Regions from separate parts of the Homo sapiens genome. Here region 2 is linked to region 1. The links are contacts of gene promoters, found by promoter capture Hi-C in blood cells and fetal thymus (Javierre and others, 2016). All regions are on one chromosome and are shown on one strand. Each heading gives the region's core, a stretch centred on a gene start or on the middle of the fragment in contact. The rest is flanking DNA. Distances are from core to core; before and after follow the strand shown.

What was found. The method cuts DNA at HindIII sites, captures the fragments that hold promoters and counts their contacts. A CHiCAGO score of 5 or more calls a contact.
Region 2: a contact is called between a fragment that was not itself captured here and the fragment with the promoter of SHB in region 1, in 2 of 17 cell types (monocytes and neutrophils). The highest score is 6.7, in monocytes.

The regions. Positions count from the first base shown.
Region 1 is chr9:38,066,310-38,071,076 of GRCh38, forward strand. SHB (SH2 domain containing adaptor protein B) reads right to left here and starts at 2,918. Exons shown (of 6, transcript NM_003028.3): 1 at 1,620-2,918. The coding sequence starts at 2,336. RefSeq lists an enhancer at 1,355-2,158 and silencers at 2,049-2,098, 2,519-3,328. The HindIII fragment of the contact is 5,108 bases long and covers 287-4,767 here.
Region 2 is chr9:37,810,809-37,815,575 of GRCh38, forward strand. All of the region lies in intron 1 of DCAF10 (DDB1 and CUL4 associated factor 10), which reads left to right. Among named protein-coding and RNA genes, the nearest start is that of DCAF10, 12 kb to the left of the region's middle. The HindIII fragment of the contact is 4,860 bases long and covers 1-4,329 here.

The sequences.
Region 1 (4,767 bases), core at 1,668-4,167:
GAGGATGCATAAAGTCCAGTGCAGTTAGCCGTGACCCTCTCGTGCCTTTTATATACAAGACCTCCAGGTTTCCCCAGTGCCTGCACCAAGCCAAGCTTCAGCCATGCATAAGACTGCACGGAGCCTATCTGGTGTTTCCCTCACTGACCAAACACAGGCCCAGGGTCCTGGTGGCTCCCAGGGAAATCTGCCCCCTCTCCCAAAGCAGCTCCTAGGTAGCCACCTGGCTCCCAGCTAGTCGTCATCTAGGTGTGGCATCCTAGGTGCTTTAGAAACCCAGAGTCCAAGCTTCCGAGGGGTGCCCCAAACTGCCTCCAGGGAGAGGTGGGATCTTCCACGGACTGCCCATGCAGATCAAACAGGGGAGGGGATATTCTGGGGACCTCGGGGAGGGGAGGCCAGGCAGAAAAACTAGAGGGACATTCCCTTCCTCCTCTCTCCTGGCAAACAAAAAAGATCCCTTTCCAAGCACCAGATGGCAGGTAAGAGCCTGTCTCCCTCCTGTCTGGACATCCAGTCCTAAAAGGAACTCAGACTCTTAATCAGTCTCCCCCAGCCCAGGCCTGGGCAAAGGTTTACCTTTGGGGGAAGAAGGTGGGGAGAACAACAGCCACGCACCAGGGCGCTGAGAAGGAAGGAGCTCTCCCACCGGGCCTCAGATTTAATCAAAACACTGCCTTCCACCAGAAGACAGAACAAGTATTATTTTATGGGGGAAGGGAGGGCTTCACAGGAGTGTGAAGGGGGAGGAGGGGACCTAGTCTGGCTGTAATTAACTCGTCTGCTTCAAAGGGAGGAATCTAGGTGGCCTAATGCGTTAGGAAGGGGGCTGTCACAAAGTCCCCCCGTGTTCCTGGGACCTTATGGGGTAGGGGTGAGGTCAGGAAGGAAGCAGGTGAGGATAGGAGGGGTGGGGTCTCCTTCCAGCCGGGCCTGATAGGCTGACCCCCTCCCGCGCGCAGCGGGAGGAACTGACGGGTTCGATGAGGAGCGCTCTTGCAGGCAGCGCATTTCAACCGGAAAAGCACGCGTGGAGGTTCCCGGAGCAGCTCCGGTACCAGGCAGCCCGGATTTGGAAACCTAGAGCTGGGGGTGGGGCAGGGCAGGGCCGGGCAGGGCAGCCGCGAGAGATTTACATATACACGCTGGAGACAGCCGGTCCGGATCTGCCACCAAGAAAGCTGTGTAATATTGGGCGAGTCCCTTCCTTGCTCTGGACCTCAGTTTCCCACCTACAGCGTGAGCGGAGGGTGGAGGCTGGGATAAGGGGTGTCAGGAGTCAAAGCTCTTCGAAGTCCTAGACAGCTCTGACTCTGACTTTACTCCTTGGCAGCCAGAAGGACTGACTGGGTCCGTCTTCCTGGGGCAAGGCTGGGCCGGGCGCTCTCGCTCAGAGGGGACGTTCTGGAAGCAGCGGCGAAAGAGGTGGGGTCAGGAGGCCGCCGGTCCCAGGAAAAGGGCGCGGGAGGAGGCAGAAGCGGGAAGCAGCACGCCAGCCCCGACCCAGGGTCCTAGGCCGAAGCTGAAGTAGAGACTCAACACCAGAGCGGCGGGTGCCTCGGTTTCCCCGTGCGCACCGTGGCTCTGGAACCTCGGGAAGAGGCCAAGGGGCACCTTACCTTGTCCTTCTTGCCGGCCCCGCTCTCCTCCGCGGCTGAGGCGGCGCACTTGTTGAGCAGTTTCTTGCCTCCGCAGGCCGTCGGGCTCCAGGTGCGGCCGCCCGCGCAGGCGCCCCCCAGGGGGTCCCCGGCCCCACCGCCCGCGGCGCTCTCCACTTTGATGAGGCGGTGCTTGGGGGAGATGTAGCGCACCTCGGCCGGCGTGGCGGGCCGCCGCTCGCTGCTGCTGCGGTAGAGATGCGGAGAGCCGGAGGACGAGGACGAGGACGCGGCGGCCCCCGCGCCCGAGGAGGCGCAGCAACAGCCCGCGGCGCCCGACGCGGACGAGGCCGAGAAGGCGCGCTGGACCCCGCCTGGCTCCCCGCTGCCGCCGCAGTAGTCCAGGCGGCACATGGCGCGCAGTTTGCGCAGCGACGAGCCAGGCCCGTTGTAGGGGTCCTCGAAGTCTCGCTCCTTCTGCGCGCGGTAGGCGCGGATGAGGTCGCTGGTGCTGCCGCTGTCGTCGGGCAGCGAGCCCGAAGAGGCTGAGAAGCAGGAGGCGGTGGCCGGACCGCAGGACGCCGAGGCGGCGGAGGAGGCCTGCGGCACGGCCTGGGGGGGCTGCGAAGGCCGCTCGCCTCGGCGCCGCTGCTCGCGGTAGTCTGGCCGCGGCGGCTGCGGGGGGCTCTTGGTCTTGCTGTTGCCCAAGCTGAAGTACTTGTTTAGCCACTTGGCCATGGCGAGAGGCCGCCTAGGGCCGCGGCGCGGGAGCCCGGTCCGCCGCCGCGGCCATTCGGGGGGCAGCGCTGCGGCGCAGGTCCCTCGGCGCCCCGGCCCCGGCGGGGGGCGTCCGGGGCGCCCGCTCCCGACGCCAAGTTCAAGTTCTTGCCGCCGCCGCCTCCTGCCGGCAGCTCTCTGGCTCCGGCGGCTGCAACACCTCCCTCCGCCTAGCGCCGCCCAAGCTAGGAATCTCGCGCCCCTCGTGGGCGCGTCTCATGGGGTCCCGGCCCACGCCCGGGGGAGAGCGGAAGGTCCGAGCGCTCCACGCCGCGGACCCTTTGGCCGTACGCCCCTCGCCGTGGATCGCGCTCCTGCCCCGTCGGAGCCGCAGCCTCCGCCTTGGCCGGGATCCGCGGCTGCCGCGGGAACTTCTCGGCGTCCTCGGCTCCCTTCTTCCTTCCTGCGAGCGCTGGGGAGAGCTCGGCCCCGCAGCGGAGGAGAATGCGGCCGGGAGAGACAGCGAGCGACGGAGGAAGGCAGCCGGCGCCCGCCGGAGCCCGCGCGCCCGTGCCCGTCCCGGCGGCGCCTGTCGCTGCCACTGCCGCCGCCTCCCGAGCCGCCGCGTGTGTGACACTCAGGCCGCCAGAGCCCGCCCCGCGCCGCCGCCCCGCCCCCCCGGAGCCCGCTCGCGCGCCCCGCCCCCCGCCCGCTCCCGCAGACCCAGCACCGCCCATCCCCGCGAGCCTGGCCCCGGGCCGCGGCCCAAGCCCCGCCCCCCTCGCGCCCGGGGCCGGGGTGGGCGCACCTCTCCGCTCCTGCACACGCCACCTCCCGCGGCTGCCCTGGCGCCAGCACCAGGGTCTTGCCCCAGGGCGCTGGGGTCCCGCCGCGCAGCCGGCTCCACCTAGCTTGCAGCTCGCCGCCGCCTCGGGCGAGAGGTTGCCTGGCGGAGCCTGCTACGCGCAGAGGCCAAACCTTTCCGCAGTCCCCCGGGACCCCGCGCGTTGTTCACTCCAGGGATCCCCCTGTCGGGGTTGAGGAGGGAGAGTGGATTAACACGGAACCTGTCTAGTTTACAGCGTGGCCCGTGTGGAGGAAATGCAGTGCCTAGTGCCCTTAGGGACAGAGTGGCTGTCCCTCTTCCTTAAAGGGACAGACTCCGGTTCAGCCCCGTGCGCCAGGTCTTCGGAGGAATCTTTATGCTAATGAGTGTATTAGCAGTCCAGATGACGGATGTGGTCGGGATAGGCGGTGGGAGCCGGGCCCAGCACCAATCCGAGAGCAAGGCTAGGGGAGGTCGGAATGTTTGCTTACCTTTTCACCTCTGAGGAAGTCGAGGCTTTAGCCCTGTTCGCTGCCAGCCGGCGGGGAGCAAGTTGTGGGAACATTTAATGCCTTATGTTGTAGGAGCTGGCAAGGATCCATTTAATACAGGACCTCGGCCGGGTGCGGTGTCTCACGCCTGTAATCCCAGCACTTTGGGAGGCCGAGGCGGGTGGATCACGAGGTCAGGAGTTTAATACCAGCCTGGCCAAGATGGTGAAACCCCGTCTCTACTAAAAATACAAAAATTAGCCGGGTGTGGTGGCGGGTACCTGTAATCCCAGCAGCTACTCGGAAGGCTGAGGCAGAGAATTGCTTGAACCTGGGAGGCAGAGGTTGCAGTGAGCCGAGATCACACCACTTCACTCCAGCCTGGGCGACAGAGGGAGATTCCGTCTCAAAAAATAAATACAGGACCTCATTTTACAGATGGAGAAACTGAGGCCCAGAGGAAAGTCACACAGGTGGACTTGGATGCCAGTTCCTAAGTCGGGTGGCACCATAATTATGTCTTTTCCAAGAGTCTCTTCTTTGCGATTTCAGATCATCCTTTGATTATTAACCAAAATTGAGGAAACAGTCCCAGGGAGTGGCCTGATTTGGTCAGTGTAACTTTTCCTGGGATCTGCACCCAGGGGAGGTGGCATGCTCCCTGTTGAGAGGGAAATGCTGCCTAAAGATGAAGTAGCTGCCACTAGGGCCTGGTGCTGCTTTGAATTTGCCTGGGCAACCCTCAAAATGTGACTTAACTCTAAGATGTGGGCACCTGAGAGCTGAGAAATTCTCTAAGAATGTTGATTTACTAAAACAATAGCCCAAATCAATAATCTGCATTTGCTGTCTGTCTGTTATAGATGTGCTTTGGGGGAGTCTGTTTTTCCCATATCCTGTAGTAACAGTGGGAACTGTGAGGGCAGACAGCAAGGCCAGGGGCTCTTTTGATCACATCATAGTTCTGGCCACGCTGGAAGTAGAGGTCAAACTCAGATTTCAATCTGAGACATTTGGACAGGGAAGGCCTGAGAGCTGTTACTGCTTCCTCTCTGTAACCCACCCAGACTCATGCCTGAGGCCACAGCACAGAAGTGATAGAAGCAGGACTTGAACTCGGTCTTATCCTGAAGCT
Region 2 (4,767 bases), core at 650-3,149, 260 kb before region 1:
CAAGAATTGCAATTTAGGATCCGCAATTTAGGTTTGGGATTGAAACTCCCCTCCCCTCACCCAGTATACCCTAGGACTAAAGGTGAATCCAGAATCGACAGTACTCATGGGGACTAAAGGCCAGCTTCAAATAATCTCATTCCCTACGTAGATTAAGAAGACCTCAGATTGCCGGCACCTCTACTCTAGCTTACTTGCCATAATTAAAGATGAATCTTCTATGGAAGAAGAAAATATGCAGCTGAGTGCCGTGGCTTACACCTTTAATCCAAGTTCTTTGGGAGGCTGAGGAGGGAAGATTAATTGAGGCCAGGAGTTGGAGACCAGTCTGAGCAACATAGTGAGAGATCCCATATCTGCAAAAAATCTAAAAATTAGCTGGGCAAGGTGGTGTGCGCCTGCCATACTAGCTACTCTGGAGGCTGAGGTGGGAGGATTGTTTAAGCCCAGGCGTTTGAGGTTACAGTGAGCTATAATCACATCACTACACTTCAGCCTGGGTGACCAAGCAAGACCCTGTCTCTAAAGAAATTTTTTTAAAAATATAATATATCATCCAGTGCTTTAAATTATCCCTATAATTTTTGTATACAGTGACGAGCACTAGTACAAAGAGATTCGTTGTCTGAAAAACCAAGAAAATCAGCAAACAATAGAAATAGACCCACAGGAGATCTGACATTAAAACTATTTAATATGTTCAAGGAATTATAAGATGGAGAAATTTAGCAGAGAACTAGAAGCTAAAAAAAGAAAACCCTAGAACTAAAAAGTACAGTAACTGATAAAAACTCACTGGATGATTTAACAGCAAACTGGACACAGCTGAAGGATTTGTGAGCTTGAGAATAGATGAGAAAAAAATATACAGAATAAAGTTCAGATTTACCAAAATGGGACATAGAGATTAAGATATGTCATAAGATACAGGGAAAAGATCTTATAAATATAAATGGAGTTTCAGAAAGATATTAAAGAGAATGAAGATAAATCAATATTTGAACAGATAATGGATGACAATTTTAAAAATTAACAAAAGACATTGTAGATTCAAGAAAGGCTATACATCTCAAGCAAGAGAAAGACAAAAAAAGCAGGCCAGGCATGGTGGCGCACCCCTGTAATCCCAGCACTTATGGAGGCTGAGGTAGTTGGATCTCTTGAGCTCAGGAGTTTGAGACCAGCCCGGCCAACATGGCAAAACCCTGACTCTACAAAAAAATTAGCCGGGTGTGGTGGCATGCGCCTGTGGTCCCAGCTACTCAGGAGGCTGAAGAAGGAGGATCACTTGAATCTGGGAGGTCAAGGCTGCAGTGAGCTGAGATTGCGCCACTGCATTCCAGCGCCACCACACTCCAAACCTTCTGAAACAAAACTGCTTCAAAAACAAAAAAAAAACCTTCCAACTGCTTTAAAAACAAAAACAAAAATCCCTACCAACTTCTTCAAAAACAAACAACAAAAAAAAGAAGAAAAAAAGACAGAAATATAAAGCCACACTTAGCTACAAGAGTAAAGCTGCTAAAACTAAAATAAAACATACATGCACAAAGACAAAGAAAATCTTAAAAGCAGCTAGAGGAAAGAGATAGATTACTTTCAAAGGAGGCTCAAAAAGAGAGCTAAGTTCACTGCAGAAACAATGGAAGTCAAGAGACAAAGATATTTCCAGACAAATATTGAGAGAATTTGCCACTATCAGATCTACACAGAAACAGGTAACAAAATTATTCTTTAGGAGGAAGGAAAAAGGTGGAAGATCAGAGGTACAGGAAAGAATGAAAAGAACAAAAATAAATATGCGTGTAAATCAAAATGAATGTGAACTTTTTTTTCATTTTTTTAGACAGAGTCTCTCTCTGTCATCCAAGCTGGAGTGCAGTGGCATGAACACTGCTCACTGCAGCCTTGACTTCCTGGGCTCAAGTAATCCTCTTGCCTCTGCCTTTTGTGTAGCTGGGACCACAGGCACACGCCAGCATGGCTGGCTAATTTTTTTATTTTTTGTAGAGACAAGGGTCTCAGTTTGTTGTCCAGGCTGGGAATGGTATAAAACATGAAAAATTTTAGTAGAGCATTAAATTTATATATAATTATATCTAAAAAATTAAATATTAGGATGGGATAAAGGAAGTTGAAGTGAGCTAAGGTTCTTGCATCATCCAGGAAGTAATAATTACGTACTTCACTTTAAAAAGTTGATGCATGATGTTAGCTCTTTAGGTATTCGCTAAAAGAAGAGTAAAAATATATTTAACATACTAAATAGCATATGGGGAGATATCAATAGCAAATGTATATATATTCTTAGAGATGGGATCTTGCACTGTTGCCCAGGCTGGAGTTCATTGGTGCTGTCACAGCTCACGGCAACCTCCAACTCCTGGGCTCAAGCAATCCTCCCGCCTGTCTCCTGGGCAGCTAGGACTGCAGCCATAAGCCACTATGCCTGGCCATTTTATTTTTTTATAGAGATAGGGTCTCCACATGTTGTCCAGGCTGATCTCCAACTCCTGGCCACAAGCTATCCTCCTGCCTTGGACTCCTAAAACACTAGGATTACAGGCATGGGCCAATGTGCCTGGCCAAAAAAATGTTTAAAGCAACTGAAAAGGGACATAGAACAGACAGGACAAATGGAAAGTAAATTCTCTGGTGACAGATTTCAACTCAAAGATTGCTAGTAGTTACATTAAATGTAATTTGACTGAGACAATGATTGTCAGATCAGATTTTTAAAAACTGCTTACAGAAGACATACCTGAAATGTAAGGATACACAAAGTTTTAAAGTAAAAGGATGTCAAGGCATACCACTGCTAGCATTAGCTAAATGAAAGTTGGTGTGTTATGTTAATATCAGACAACACAAAAAACAAATTCATACAATTTCCAAGCATTGAGATTAAGCAGTTTGTTTTTCAATGAAAGTTCAGGAAATAAATAACTAGAAAATCTCTTTATTTTTGGAAATGCTCTTTTAAATAACTTGTGAGTCAAAGAAGAAATCACAGTATAAATTATAAAATATTTGAAACTGAATGATGAAAACACTATCAAAATTTGTGCAATTGCAGCTGAAGCCATGTATAGAGGAAAATCTTAGATCCTTAAATGCAGATATTAGAAAAGAAGAAAGGCTGAATTGTCAATAAGCTAAGTAAGCATCCATCTCAAGAACTTTGAAACAGAACAACAAATTATACCCAAAGAAGGTAAAAAGAAGGAATAGAGATCAGAGTGCAATTGAACCACTTTGAAACTATTTGTCACTATATATATATATATATATATATATATATATATATATATATATATATTTGTTGTTGTTGTTGTTGTTGTTGTTGTTGAGATGGAGTCTCATTCTGTCACCCAGGCTGGAGTGCAATGGCACGATCTCAGGTTACTGCAACCTCTGCCTCCCGGGTTCAAGCGATTCTCCTGCCTCAGCCTCCCAAGTAGCTGGAATTACAGGCATGTGCCACCACGCCGGCTTTTTTTTTTTTTTTTTTTTTGTATTTTTAGTAGAGATGGGTTTCACCATGTTGGCCAGCCTGGTCTCAAACTCCTGACCTTGTGATCCGCCCGCCTCGGCCTCCTAAAGTGCTGGGGTTACAGGCGTGAGCCACCACGCCTGGCCTTCAATTTTTTTTTTAAGAGGCAGGGTCTTGCTGTGTTGCCAGGCTGATCTCAAATTCCTGGGCTCAAGTGATCCTCCTGCCTCAGCCACCCAAAGTGCTGGAATTATAGGTGAGAGCCACTGTGTCTGGCCTTTAAAGTTTAAAAATAGAAACAGAGGATATTGTGAACAACTTCATGCCAATAAAATTCTAAAGTTCAATGAAATAGGCTAATTCCTAGAAAAGTAGAAATTACCAAAACTGACATTAGTAAAAGATTAGAAAGTAGTATCATAACCAATAATACTGCATCAGTAGTTAGGTCTAGATGGTTTTATAGACTAGCACTACCAAATTTACAAGAAATAAATAATCCCAATTTATATAAACTATTCCAGTGTATAAAATAACAAGAGCCAGTCTTAATTCATTCCATGATGTTAGCATACACTTTATACCAAAATCTGACATGAATAGCACAAGAAAGCAAAATTACCATGCAATTTCGCTGAAGAATAAAGATAGAAAAATCATAAACAAAATATTAGCCAACTGAATCTAGCAATGAGGTAAAAATAAAAGACTGATTTGAAATTAGAAAGTAAATTAATGTAAATAACTACATTAATATATTAAAGGAAAAATATAGGAATATCTCAATAAATGCTGAAAAATCTCTTACACAGTTTGACATATATTCATGAAAAGAAAGCTTAGCAAAATTGAAACAGAACTTTCCTTAATCTAATAGTAGGAATCTGCCCAAAAAACCTACACCAAACATTGTACTTAATGATGAAATGTTGAATATATTCTTGAAGATCAGGAACAAGATGAGTGCCTGCTATTAACACTTCTATTCAACATTGTTCTGAAAGTCCTAGTCAGTATAACAACCAAAAAGAGAAGGAAACAGGTTTTTAAAAAGAAGAACAGTCTGGGCATGGTGGCTCACGCCTGTAATCCCAGCACTTTGGGAGGCCGAGGCAGGTGGATCACCTGAGGTCAGCAGTTCGAGACTAGCCTGGCCAACATGGTGAAACCCTGTCTCTACTAATAATACAAAAATTAGCTGGGCATCATGGCACACGCCTGCAGTCCCAGCTACCCAGGAGGCTGCGGCAGGAGAATCACTTGAACCCGGGAGG